Linked DNA regions of Homo sapiens: regions 1 and 3 are each linked to region 2. Evidence: promoter capture Hi-C in human tissues and cell types (Jung and others, 2019). All regions are on one chromosome and are shown on one strand. The core of a region is centred on a gene start or on the middle of the fragment in contact, and the rest is flanking DNA. Distances in the headings are between cores, read along the strand shown. Region 1 overlaps ZNF721 (zinc finger protein 721). Region 2 holds the start of ZNF732 (zinc finger protein 732). Region 3 overlaps ZNF718 (zinc finger protein 718).

What was found. Contacts are between HindIII fragments. The study calls those that stand out against the background at their distance.
Region 1: a fragment that was not itself captured here is called in contact with the fragment with the promoter of ZNF732 in region 2 in 8 of the 25 tissues and cell types used here (dorsolateral prefrontal cortex, heart left ventricle, heart right ventricle and 5 more).
Region 3: a fragment that was not itself captured here is called in contact with the fragment with the promoter of ZNF732 in region 2 in 7 of the 25 tissues and cell types used here (dorsolateral prefrontal cortex, heart left ventricle, hippocampus and 4 more).

What each region holds. Positions count from the first base shown.
Region 1 is chr4:442,939-446,947 of GRCh38, reverse strand. It overlaps ZNF721 (zinc finger protein 721), which reads left to right. Exons shown (of 3, transcript NM_133474.4): 3 at 2,516-4,009. It also overlaps the pseudogene ABCA11P. Among named protein-coding and RNA genes, the nearest start is that of ZNF721, 54 kb to the left of the region's middle. The HindIII fragment of the contact is 5,137 bases long and covers 1-4,009 here.
Region 2 is chr4:303,746-307,313 of GRCh38, reverse strand. It overlaps ZNF732 (zinc finger protein 732), which reads left to right and starts at 1,840. Exons shown (of 4, transcript NM_001137608.3): 1 at 1,840-2,006. The coding sequence starts at 2,004. The HindIII fragment of the contact is 17,523 bases long and covers 1-3,568 here.
Region 3 is chr4:158,799-162,235 of GRCh38, reverse strand. It overlaps ZNF718 (zinc finger protein 718), which reads right to left. Exons shown (of 4, transcript NM_001039127.6): 4 at 1-1,324. The coding sequence ends at 114. Among named protein-coding and RNA genes, the nearest start is that of ZNF718, 36 kb to the right of the region's middle. The HindIII fragment of the contact is 3,300 bases long and covers 97-3,396 here.

The DNA.
Region 1 (4,009 bases), core at 586-3,085, 140 kb before region 2:
TTGGGAGGCTGAGGCAGGCGGATTACGTAAAGAGATCGAGACCATCCTGGTCAACATGTTGAAACCCCATCTTCACCAGAAATGCAAAAATTTGCTGGGCGTGGTGGTGCGCCTGTAGTCCCAGCTACTTGGGAGGCTGAGGCAGGAGAATTGCTTGAACCCAGGAGGGGAGGTTGCAGTGAGCCAAGATTGTGCTGCTGCACTCCAGCCTGGCAACAGAGTGAGACTCTGTCTAAAAAGAAAAAAAAGAAAAAAAAAAGAAAATTCGGGGTTGGGTGTGGTGGCTCACGCCTGCAATCCCAGCACTTTTGGAGGCTGAGGCAGGCAGATAACGAGGTCAGGAGTTCGAGACCAGCCTGGCCAGTATGATGAAACCCTGTCTCTATTAAAAATACAAAAAGTAGAAGAGCATGGTGGTGTGTACCTGTAGTTCTAGCTACTCAGGAGGCTGAGGCAGAAGAATTGCTTGAACTGGGCAGGCAGAGGTTGCAGTGAGCCAAGATAGTGCCACTGCACTCCAGTCTGGGTGACAGAGTGAGACTCTGTCTCAAAAAAAAAAAAAAAAAGAAAACTTCCTCATTACATCTGTCCTCGTTTGTTATTGATGTCAGTAATCATATTTTTATGTGGTATATTATTACCAGATAATGATCAACAGTTTATGATCATTTTTATGCTTTTAACTTTAAAATTTTAGAGAATAATTAAAATGTTTTCCGCACTATTAGGATAGTGGTACAGAACTTTGTGTACGTGCATATCTTTTTCAGAAAGTTACATATTTTCGTATGATTATGTTTGGTTTTCTTGCATTATGTTATTTTCACTGGAAGACACTTTCTTCAGCATTTTTTTGGTAAGACAGGTGTTGTGCTAATATACTTTTTCAGCATGTGCTTATCTTGAAAGGTCTTTACTTTTTCTTCATTTTTAGGACAGTTTTGCTGGTTATATTATTCCCATGTAGAATTTTTTTTTCTCCAGCATCTTAATTATATTGCAGTTCCTTCTGGTGTGAAATAGTTTTGTTGACAGATTCACTGGTAATCTTATAAGACCACACTTATAAATGACACATCACTTTTTGTAGTTCCTAAAATGCCCTTCTTGTGTTTGATTTTTCAAACTTTGCTCATGTATATATATGTGCCTTGCGATAAATCTGTGTGTGTATCCTAGTTGAAGTTTGTTGAGCTGCTTCATTTATTACATCCTTTTTTTAACTTCTGAAAATTTCTGAGTCATTATTTTATATTTTTCACCTCCTTTTTTTATGTTTTTAATGTTTTCATTGATGTTCTGATTTTTCTGATTACATTTAGTTATATGTGTTTTCAGTTAACTGATTCAGCATTATTCAGATTACATTTAAAAAATTAGTACATCTTTTTTTATGGTTTTCTGAAAATTTTAAAATCATTATAATGTGTTCTAATATTTTGTATACATTGTAATATTTGCTTGTTATTTGAACATTAACAAAAAGCTATTTGTCACAATCTTTATTATGTTGCTTTGTCATGATGTAGTCTGAAGCCAGTTGTCTTTGGTAGAGATTATGGGAACCTGTCATACATGTTGGAAGGATGTCTCTTGTCTGGAATTTTGTGTTTATTTTTTAGTTAAAAGGGTTTCTTCATGTTTCCTGTTAAGAGGCTCTAATTGGCCAGGCATGGTGGCTCACTCCTGTAATCCCAGCAACTTTAGGAGGCTGAGGCAGGTGGATCACGAGGTCAGGAGATTGAGACCATCCTGGCTAACATAGTGAAACCCCATCTCTACTAAAAATACAAAAATTAGCTGGGCGTGGTGGTAGGTGCCTGTAGTCCCAGCTATTGGGGAGGCTGAGGCAGGAGAATGGCATGAACCCAGGAGGTGGAGCTTGCAGTGAGCCAAGATCCCGCCACTGCACTCCAGCCTGGGCGACAGAGTGAGACTCCATCTCAAAAAAAAAAAAAAAAAAAAAAAGTCTCTCATCACTTGCTGTACCTGTTGCCTGTATTCAGCACTTCAGTCTGCTTTTGAAATATTTATATTTTGTCTTCGAATACCCAAGTTGTTCTTCCAAAGTATCACCATTTCTTTCAGCACTGTTTTATTGGAGGCAGAAATCAGTTTTTGTAAAGACCCCAAAAGCCAGAAATAAGGATATGTGTGTCAGTATTTTTCTTCTCTTTTAAGGAAAAAGGAGTTGAGAGCTTTCTTCTAATGGCATAGTGCTATATTGGGGAGGAAGAGCTGTTGGTGGGTAAATTGAACAAACATTCCTTCCTGTTCTATGTGGCTCTTGGCATTGTGCTTACCTGAGGGATTGCATACAATTAACTCATTTATAGATTTCACACAAAGGCATTTTGATCACCATATGTTTGTTACATGTATATGTGAAGAAGTTATGACTTGTGGTATTTTGTTATGTGATCTTACTAGCGTACTTTGTATAATCTTATGATTTGTAAAGTATATGCATATGAATCTAGTAACTGGGATAATTTGTTATTTTTGTTTCTTTCAGCTATGTGTTCTCATTTCACCCAAGACTTTTTGCCAGTGCAGGGGATAGAAGATTCATTCCACAAACTTATACTGAGAAGATATGAGAAATGTGGGCATGATAATTTACAATTAAGGAAAGGCTGTAAAAGTATGAACGTGTGTAAAGTGCAGAAGGGAGTTTATAATGGAATTAATAAATGCTTGTCAAATACTCAGAGCAAAATATTTCAATGTAATGCACGTGTCAAAGTTTTTAGTAAATTTGCAAATTCAAACAAAGATAAGACAAGACATACTGGAGAGAAACACTTTAAATGTAACGAATGTGGCAAGTCATTTCAGAAGTTCTCAGACCTAACTCAACATAAAGGAATTCATGCTGGAGAGAAACCCTACACTTGTGAAGAACGTGGCAAAGACTTTGGATGGTACACAGACCTGAATCAACACAAGAAAATTCATACTGGAGAGAAACCTTACAAATGTGAAGAATGTGGCAAAGCCTTTAATAGGTCAACAAACCTTACTGCACATAAGAGAATTCACAACAGAGAGAAAGCTTACACAGGTGAAGATCGTGACAGAGCCTTTGGATGGTCCACAAACCTGAATGAATATAAGAAAATTCATACTGGAGATAAACCCTACAAATGTAAAGAATGTGGGAAAGCCTTTATGCATTCCTCACACCTGAATAAACATGAGAAAATTCATACTGGAGAGAAACCCTACAAATGTAAGGAATGTGGCAAAGTCATTTCCTCATCCTCAAGCTTTGCTAAACATAAGAGGATTCATACTGGCGAGAAACCCTTTAAATGTTTAGAATGTGGTAAAGCCTTTAATATTTCCACAACCCTTACTAAACATAGGAGAATTCATACTGGAGAGAAACCCTACACATGTGAAGTATGTGGCAAAGCCTTTAGACAGTCCGCAAACCTTTATGTACATAGGAGAATTCATACTGGAGAGAAACCCTACACATGTGGAGAATGTGGCAAAACCTTTAGACAGTCCGCAAACCTTTACGTACATAGGAGAATTCATACTGGAGAGAAACCTTACAAATGCGAAGACTGTGGCAAAGCCTTTGGACGGTACACAGCCCTGAATCAACACAAGAAAATTCATACTGGAGAGAAACCTTACAAATGTGAAGAGTGTGGCAAAGCCTTTAATAGTTCAACAAACCTTACTGCACATAAGAGAATTCACACCAGAGAGAAACCCTACACATGTGAAGATCGTGGCAGAGCCTTTGGATTGTCCACAAACCTGAATGAATATAAGAAAATTCATACTGGAGATAAACCCTACAAATGTAAAGAATGTGGGAAAGCCTTTATACATTCCTTGCACCTGAATAAACATGAGAAAATTCATACTGGAAAGAAACCCTACAAATGTAAGCAATGTGGCAAAGTCATTACCTCATCCTCAAGCTTTGCTAAACATAAGAGGATTCATACTGGCGAGAAACCCTTTGAATGTTTAGAATGTGGTAAAGCGT
Region 2 (3,568 bases), core at 591-3,090:
TTTTGTTCAATTCTTTGTTCAAAATATCAAGGACCTGGACAACTCACACTCACGGCCTTCCTTCTGGGAACAGAAGTGCAGGTAGAAGTGGATGCATGTGATTGGTGCTTAAACTCACACAGTGCCCCACACCACAGGAGAAAAACACACAGTTACAGCCTGACAGGTCCAAAGATAAATAGCAAAACAAGAAATTTGCCTTTAATCTATTCCCTCCACATCTAAACTCTGGAGGGCAAGGCTGTGAAGAGATCTGAATACATGGTGCTCTCTCTTCCTGTGGACCCATCATTCCTTGTTTACTGTCTGATATTTAAAAGGAAGAGGAACCCCTGAGAGAGGAGGCAGTCAGAAGCTAGTTAGGAAGATAGGGAGGGAGGGTCTCTGGAGAGGAAAAACACCCATGGGACCGCACATGCACCACCCTTGTAGCTAGTGGGAAGAAATGTGGTTAAGAACTTCCTCTTATGCCAGGATGTTGATCAGAAGGGACTGTCCCCACTTAGGCCCAGGTGTAATAAATCAACCTAAATGTCATTAACTTGACCCAGCTCCTTATAATGTTACCTAACATGACATAAGTATTTTGGTTTTAGCTTCACCCTTTCCACCTGCTGTGGGTTTCGCTTGGGCACTCATGGGTAATAACCAAGACGGAGTCACTGTGGTCAATCCCAGGCATGCTCAGATGCAACACTGTTATAGGGGAACTTTACCCCTCCCATTTGGGCAGAGCCCACAGAAGACTTCCTTGTTCTTGCCATATAAACTCAGCCCCATTTCTGGCACCCTGCTTTCATGTCCCCTCTTACTGCTGAGAGCTTTCCCTATGCTTAATAAATCCTATTCTGCTTTACTCACTCTCTGGTGTCTGTATGTCTTATTCTTCCTGGTCATGGGAAGAGAGCCCAGACGTGGTTGAACTGAGGAGACCACCACACTGGTACCAAACAGCAAGGGGGAGACAGTGATCTTCACGTGGACACTCTCAGCTTGCAGCCCCTGCTCTCTCTAGGGGCACTGTCCTACCCATCCTTCATCCTGAGGAGAAAAGTTGGTAGAGAGGCTGGTCCCTTACTTCCAGTAGAAAAGACGTGTTCAGGCCCTCACTTTCTTGAGGTCAGAGCCCTCATGGCTGTACTCGATGTGGCAGCCACCAGACATATGTAGCTACTGAGTACCTGGAATGTGGCTGGTTTGAGGTAAAATGTGCTGCAAACATAAAATACACAGTGAGTTTAGACGAATTAAATCAGAAATATACTTTATTTCTAATTATATATTGATCACATATTGAAACAATATTTTGGATACAATAGGTTAAAATATAAACAATTTCACTTGTTTCTTTTTATTATTTTTGATGTGGCTAATAAAAAATTGAAAATTCACAAATAGCTAACATTTTATTTTTTAAAGGATTGCTTCCCCCTTAAAATCCTACTCAAAAGACCAGAGGACAGAGAGGTTATGAAATCTAAAATATTAAAATAATTGTCATTATATTGTTTCCATTTGTGAACAAGTGTGTGTCTGTGTGTGTGCGCGCGCGTACGTACACAATTTATAAATGGGCGTAACCTTACACACCAGAAGGTTAAAAATGAACCCCCAACAGAGCCAAGCCTAGCACAGAAAGCCCTGACTGAAAATACCTGGAGGCACGAGTCTGTCTCTCTTGCCTCATTAAGTGCACTGTGTGGTGGCAAGTTCTGTCACTCAAATTCTGAGCGTGGGGAGCTTGGTATCTTATCCAATCAGAGCGCTGGATTGAGAACTGCCCAATCAGGCGCGCAGCCGGAGAGGAGGGGGCGGCATCCGGGATCTGGCGCGGCTTTTGCCTTTTGCGCCAGCGTGAGCTCGGTTAGGGTCTCCACGGCCGTGCTTTCACCCCTCAGGGAGGCGTCGGTGATTCGGTCACAGCCTCAGCCTCCGTCGCTCTGTGACCTGCGGGTATTGGATGATTCGTAGCTGAGACTCCGCTACACCCCTGAAGTGGGGAAATGGTGAGTGTGGGGGCAGGGCGTCCCAAGGCTGGGGAGGCCTCATCCGAACCGGCGGGAAATGGCGGCGGCGGGACGGAGTCTGCGAACGGAGTCTCCGCTGCCGCCGCTCAGCCCTCAGTCCTTGGTCCCTTCCGGTGAGGGACCCGGGTTCATGTCGGTCCCCGCAAGGCGGCTTTGGCCCAGCCTGCAGCCCTACTTGTGCAGCTCTGCGCCCGCAGCCCCGCACCTTCCCTGGGCTGTGGGGTGAGGAGGAGCTCATCGGGAAAACGCCTGCGTGGCGTGCGAGGTGCCCGCCTGGGAGGAGCTGTGGTCCGGTCGTCGAGTCCCTACTTTACCCTGTTCGGAATAAGATCGAGGCCCTATCAAAACATAGAGTTCATGTGAGCAAATGGGGACTAATTAATGGGACAGCCCCGGGCATGGCTTGTGGTTTGGGGGCTGCCAGCGGGTCTTGAAGGAAAAGCTTTTGTGAGGTGTGTGAGGAAGCGAAGCAAATCACCCGCCCGCTCCAACTTGCCCACCAGTCCCCTTGCCCTGTGCGCCTCCTCCGCGTGGCTGTTCCTGAGTGGCATCTTTTAGAATACGCTGGTGTGGGCGCGCACAGCGCTTCGCTGAGTTCTGTGAGTAGTTCTGCCACATTATTGAACTTGAGGAGGGTGTGGGCGCCCCTGGTTTGTAGGCAGGCGTTCAGAAATGAAGACGGGTGTCCAGAGGCAGGGACTGCCGTCTGCAGGGGGGGGGCAGCTGCGGGAAGAGCGCTGAGCTTGTGGGGTCTTCGCTGACTCTGGGTGGTGTCGTTAGTGAGTTGCTGGACACCGCGTTGGGGTTGGAGCATTGACTGATGTTGAGCAAACTCCGCACGTTTTCTGTCAGAAGAAAGACATGGCTGAGCCTGGGCTGGAGAAAGATGCCTGGTGTCTGCGGGAGGCGCGGCCGGGTTCTGCACATGTGCTGTCCCGCTGGGCACTGTCCTTTTCCTCCAGGTCTCCTTCCGGGGAGAGAAGGGACTGGGAACTTAGAGGAAAGGAGTTCTGAGAAACATCCCTTCCCTGCACCCTGCTGCCAGCCCCCACTTAATGCTAACCCACTCCCGAGGACGCTCACTGGCCATTCGCATTGCCACACTCCTCCCAGGACAGGGTTCTACCCTCAGGAATTGTGCCCGTGACAGCTTTGCTCCTAGGGTATTCTGCCAATAACACACACAGTGCCAGGAAGACTCCTGGCTCATTTCAACCCCAGACACTGGATCTATAGCAGGAACCTGTTTCCTTCCCCCACCCAGGCTTCTGGACCACCTGATCCTAATCTCCTCTGCCTTTATGGACACATGAATCAGTCAGATGGTAACCCTGCCTAGACCTGCACTTGTAGCACAAACTAGTCTTTTATTTAGTCAGTCCTGCCCTGTCCCCACCATGACTCTTGATAGCTCCTTTCTCTCTTCTGCTTTTTTCTTCCTCACAAATCTTATTTCCTGTGCACACAGTGTGCCCAAGTCCATCCCTCACTTGCCTGCGAGAATTCAGACGTTAGTGACTTCAAGACCATGCCTTTAAACC
Region 3 (3,437 bases), core at 497-2,996, 140 kb after region 2:
GAGTTGCGGTTAAAAGCTTTGTCAATTTTTTCATGTGTAGAGTTTCTCTCCAGTATGAATTATGATTAGAAAAGACTGAGGAAGACTTAAAGGCTCCCACATTCTTCACATTTCTAAAATTTTCCTCCAGTATGAGTTCTCTTATGTTGAGGAAGGTTGGAGTACTGCTTAAAAGCTTTCCCGCATTCTTTACATTTGTAGGGTTTATCTACAGTGTGAATTTTCTTATGTTTATTCAAGTGTGAGGACTGTTTAAAGGCTTTGCCACATTGTTTACATATGTAGGGTTTCTCTCCAGTATGAATTTTCTTATGATTATGCAGGTTTGCAAACACTTTAAAGGCTTTGCCACAATCTTCACATTTGTAGGGATTTTTTCCAGAGTGAATTCTCTTGTGTACATTAAGGGTTGAGGACCAATTAAAGGCTTTTCCACATTCTTCACATGTGTAGGGTTTCTCTCCAGTATGGATTCTCTTATGTGTCGTAAGAGTTGTGGACCTATTAAAGGATTTTCCACATTCTTCACATTTGTAGGGTTTCTCTCCTGTATGAATTCTCTTATGTTTAGCAAAGTCTGAGGATGTGGTAAAGACATTGCCACATTCTTCGCATGAGAAGGGTTTCTCTCCAGCATGAATTCTCTTATGTTCATTAAGGGATGAGGACCACTTAAAGGCTTTACCACATTCTTCACATTTGTAGTATTTTTGTGCAGAATGAATTCTCTTATGTAAATTAAGGGTTGAGGATTGGTTAAAAGCTTTACCACATTTTTCACATATGTAGGGTTTCTCTCCAGTATGAATTCTCTTATGTTTAGTAAGGTGTGAGGACCGAGTAAAGCCTTTACCACATTCTTCACACTTGTAGAATTTCTCTCTGGCATGAATTCTCTTATGTTTAGTAAGAATTGAGGACCAATTAAAGGCTTTGCCACATTCTTCACATGTGTAGGGGTTCTCTCCAGTATGAATTCTTTTGTGTTGAGTTAGGCGTGAGAGCACGTGAAATGATTTGCCACATTCTTTACATTTAAAGGTTTTATCTCCAGTATATCTTATCTTATCTTTGTTTGAATTTGAAAATTTATGAAAAACTTTGACACATATATTAGATTGAATTGTTTTTTTCTGGGTAGTTAATAAGCATTGGTTAATTCTATTATAACCACCTTTCTGCACCTTACACTCATTTATACTTTTACAAGTTTTTCTTAAATTCTCATGTCCACGTTTCTCATGTCCTTTTGGTATAAGTTTGTGGAATGAATCTTCTATGCCCTGCACTGTCCAAAGGTTTTGGGTGAAATGAGAACACACAGCTGAAAGAAATAAAAATAACAAATTATCCCACTTACTAGATTCATATAAATATACTTTACAGGCCAGGCACTATAGCTCAAGCCAGTAATTCCAGCAGTTTCCGAGGCCAAGGTGGGCAAATAATGAGGTAAGGAGTTCGAGACCAGCCTGGCCAACATGGTGAAACACTGTCTGTACTAAAAATACAAAAAAAATGTGCTGGGAATGATGGTGCATGCCTATAATCCCAGCTACTTGGGAGGCTGAGGCAGGAGAATCCCTTGAACCCGGGAGGTAGAGGCTTCCATCAGCCAAGATCACACCACTGCACTCCAGAAAAGGTGACAGTGTGAGACCCCATCTCAATAAATAAATAAACAAATAAGTAAATAAATATACTTTACAAATCTAATACAATTACAAATCTAATATATAAAATTATACAAAGTATATCAGTAAGATGCTCAGTAAATACCACAGGCCATAATTTCTTTACAGACATATATAACAAAAATATACTGACCAAAATGCCTTTGTGTGAAATCTATAAATGAGTTAATTATGTGCAATGCCTCAGGTAAGCACAATTCCAAGAGCCACATAAAACACGAAGTAAAGTATGTTACATTTACCCACTGCAGCTCTTCCTTCCCACAAATATAGCATTGTGCTTTAGGAGTAAACTGCCAACACCTGGCTTCTTAGAGGAAAAATAGTGACACACGCATTCCTACTTCTGGTTTTTGGAAATTATTACAAAAGCTGGTTTCTGTCTCCAATAATACAGGGTGCTGAAAGAAATGGTGGTGAGTCTGCTGAGACCAAAGGTAAATGTTTCATGAGCAGACAGCAGTGCTAAAAACAGGGAACAGGTAGAGCAAGTGATTAGAAACCATAAGAAGAAACATGAACAAACTCTTTTAACTGAAGAATAAACACAAAATTCTAGACAAGACACACCCTTACAACATGTATGAGAGGCTCCCATAATCTCTATCAAAGACAACTGGTTTCAGACTATGTGAGGACAAGGCAACATTGTAAAGATTGTGACAAATAGCTTTTAGTTCATGTTCAAATAACAATATTACAATGTAGGCAAAATACTAGGGCAACATGGCCCAATTAAAAAATTTGAAAATTTTCAGAAAACAACTATAAATAATGAAGATATTCAAAATTTAAAAGTTTAACCTGAATAATGCTCAATGAGTGAAATAGAAACATATACAATTTATAAAATCAGAAAAATAAGAATATCAATGAAAACATTAAAAATATAAAAAACAAGTCATGAAGGTGAAAAATACAACAATAATGACTGAGACATTTTCAAAAGTAAAAAAAGGATGTAAAAACTGAAGATGCTCCACAAGCTTCAACTAGGATACACACATAGAGATTTATAACAAGACACATACAAGCAAAGTTTCAAAAGTCAAAGACAAGAAGAGAATCTTAGGAGTTACAAGGTAAAAGTGATGTGTCATTTATAAATAAGTGTGGTCTTATAAGATAACCAGTGAATCTGTCAAAAAAAAAAAATTCCAGATGTCATGGAATTGTAATATAAAGTGGTGAAAGAAAAATAGCTTCGGCCAGGCACAGTGGCTCAGACCTGTAATCCCAACACTTTGGGAGGCCAAGGTGGGCAGATCACAAGGTCAGGAGTTCGAGACCATCCTTGCCAACATGGTGAAACCCTGTCTCTACTAAAAATACAAAAAAATTAGCCAGGTGTGGTGCACATGCCTGTAGTCCCAGCTACTCGGGAGGCTGAGGCAAAAGAATTGCTTGAACCCAGGAGGCAGAGGTTGCAGTGAGCCAAGATCGCGCCACTGCACTCTAGCCTGGGCGACAAAACAAGACTCCATCTCAAAAAAAAAAAAAAGAAAAAAGAAAAAAAGAATAGCTCCTAAGTGGGACTAATATAACCAGCAAAACTGTCCTAAAAATGAAGAAAAAGTAAAGACCTTGCAAGATAACCAAATGCTGAAAAAGTATATTAGCACTACATCTGCCTTGCAAAAAAAAAAAAAGGCTAAAGAAAGTATCTTTCACTGAAAATAACATAATGCAAGAAAACAAAACATAATCATATGAAAACATAATTTTCTAGGAAAGATATGCACA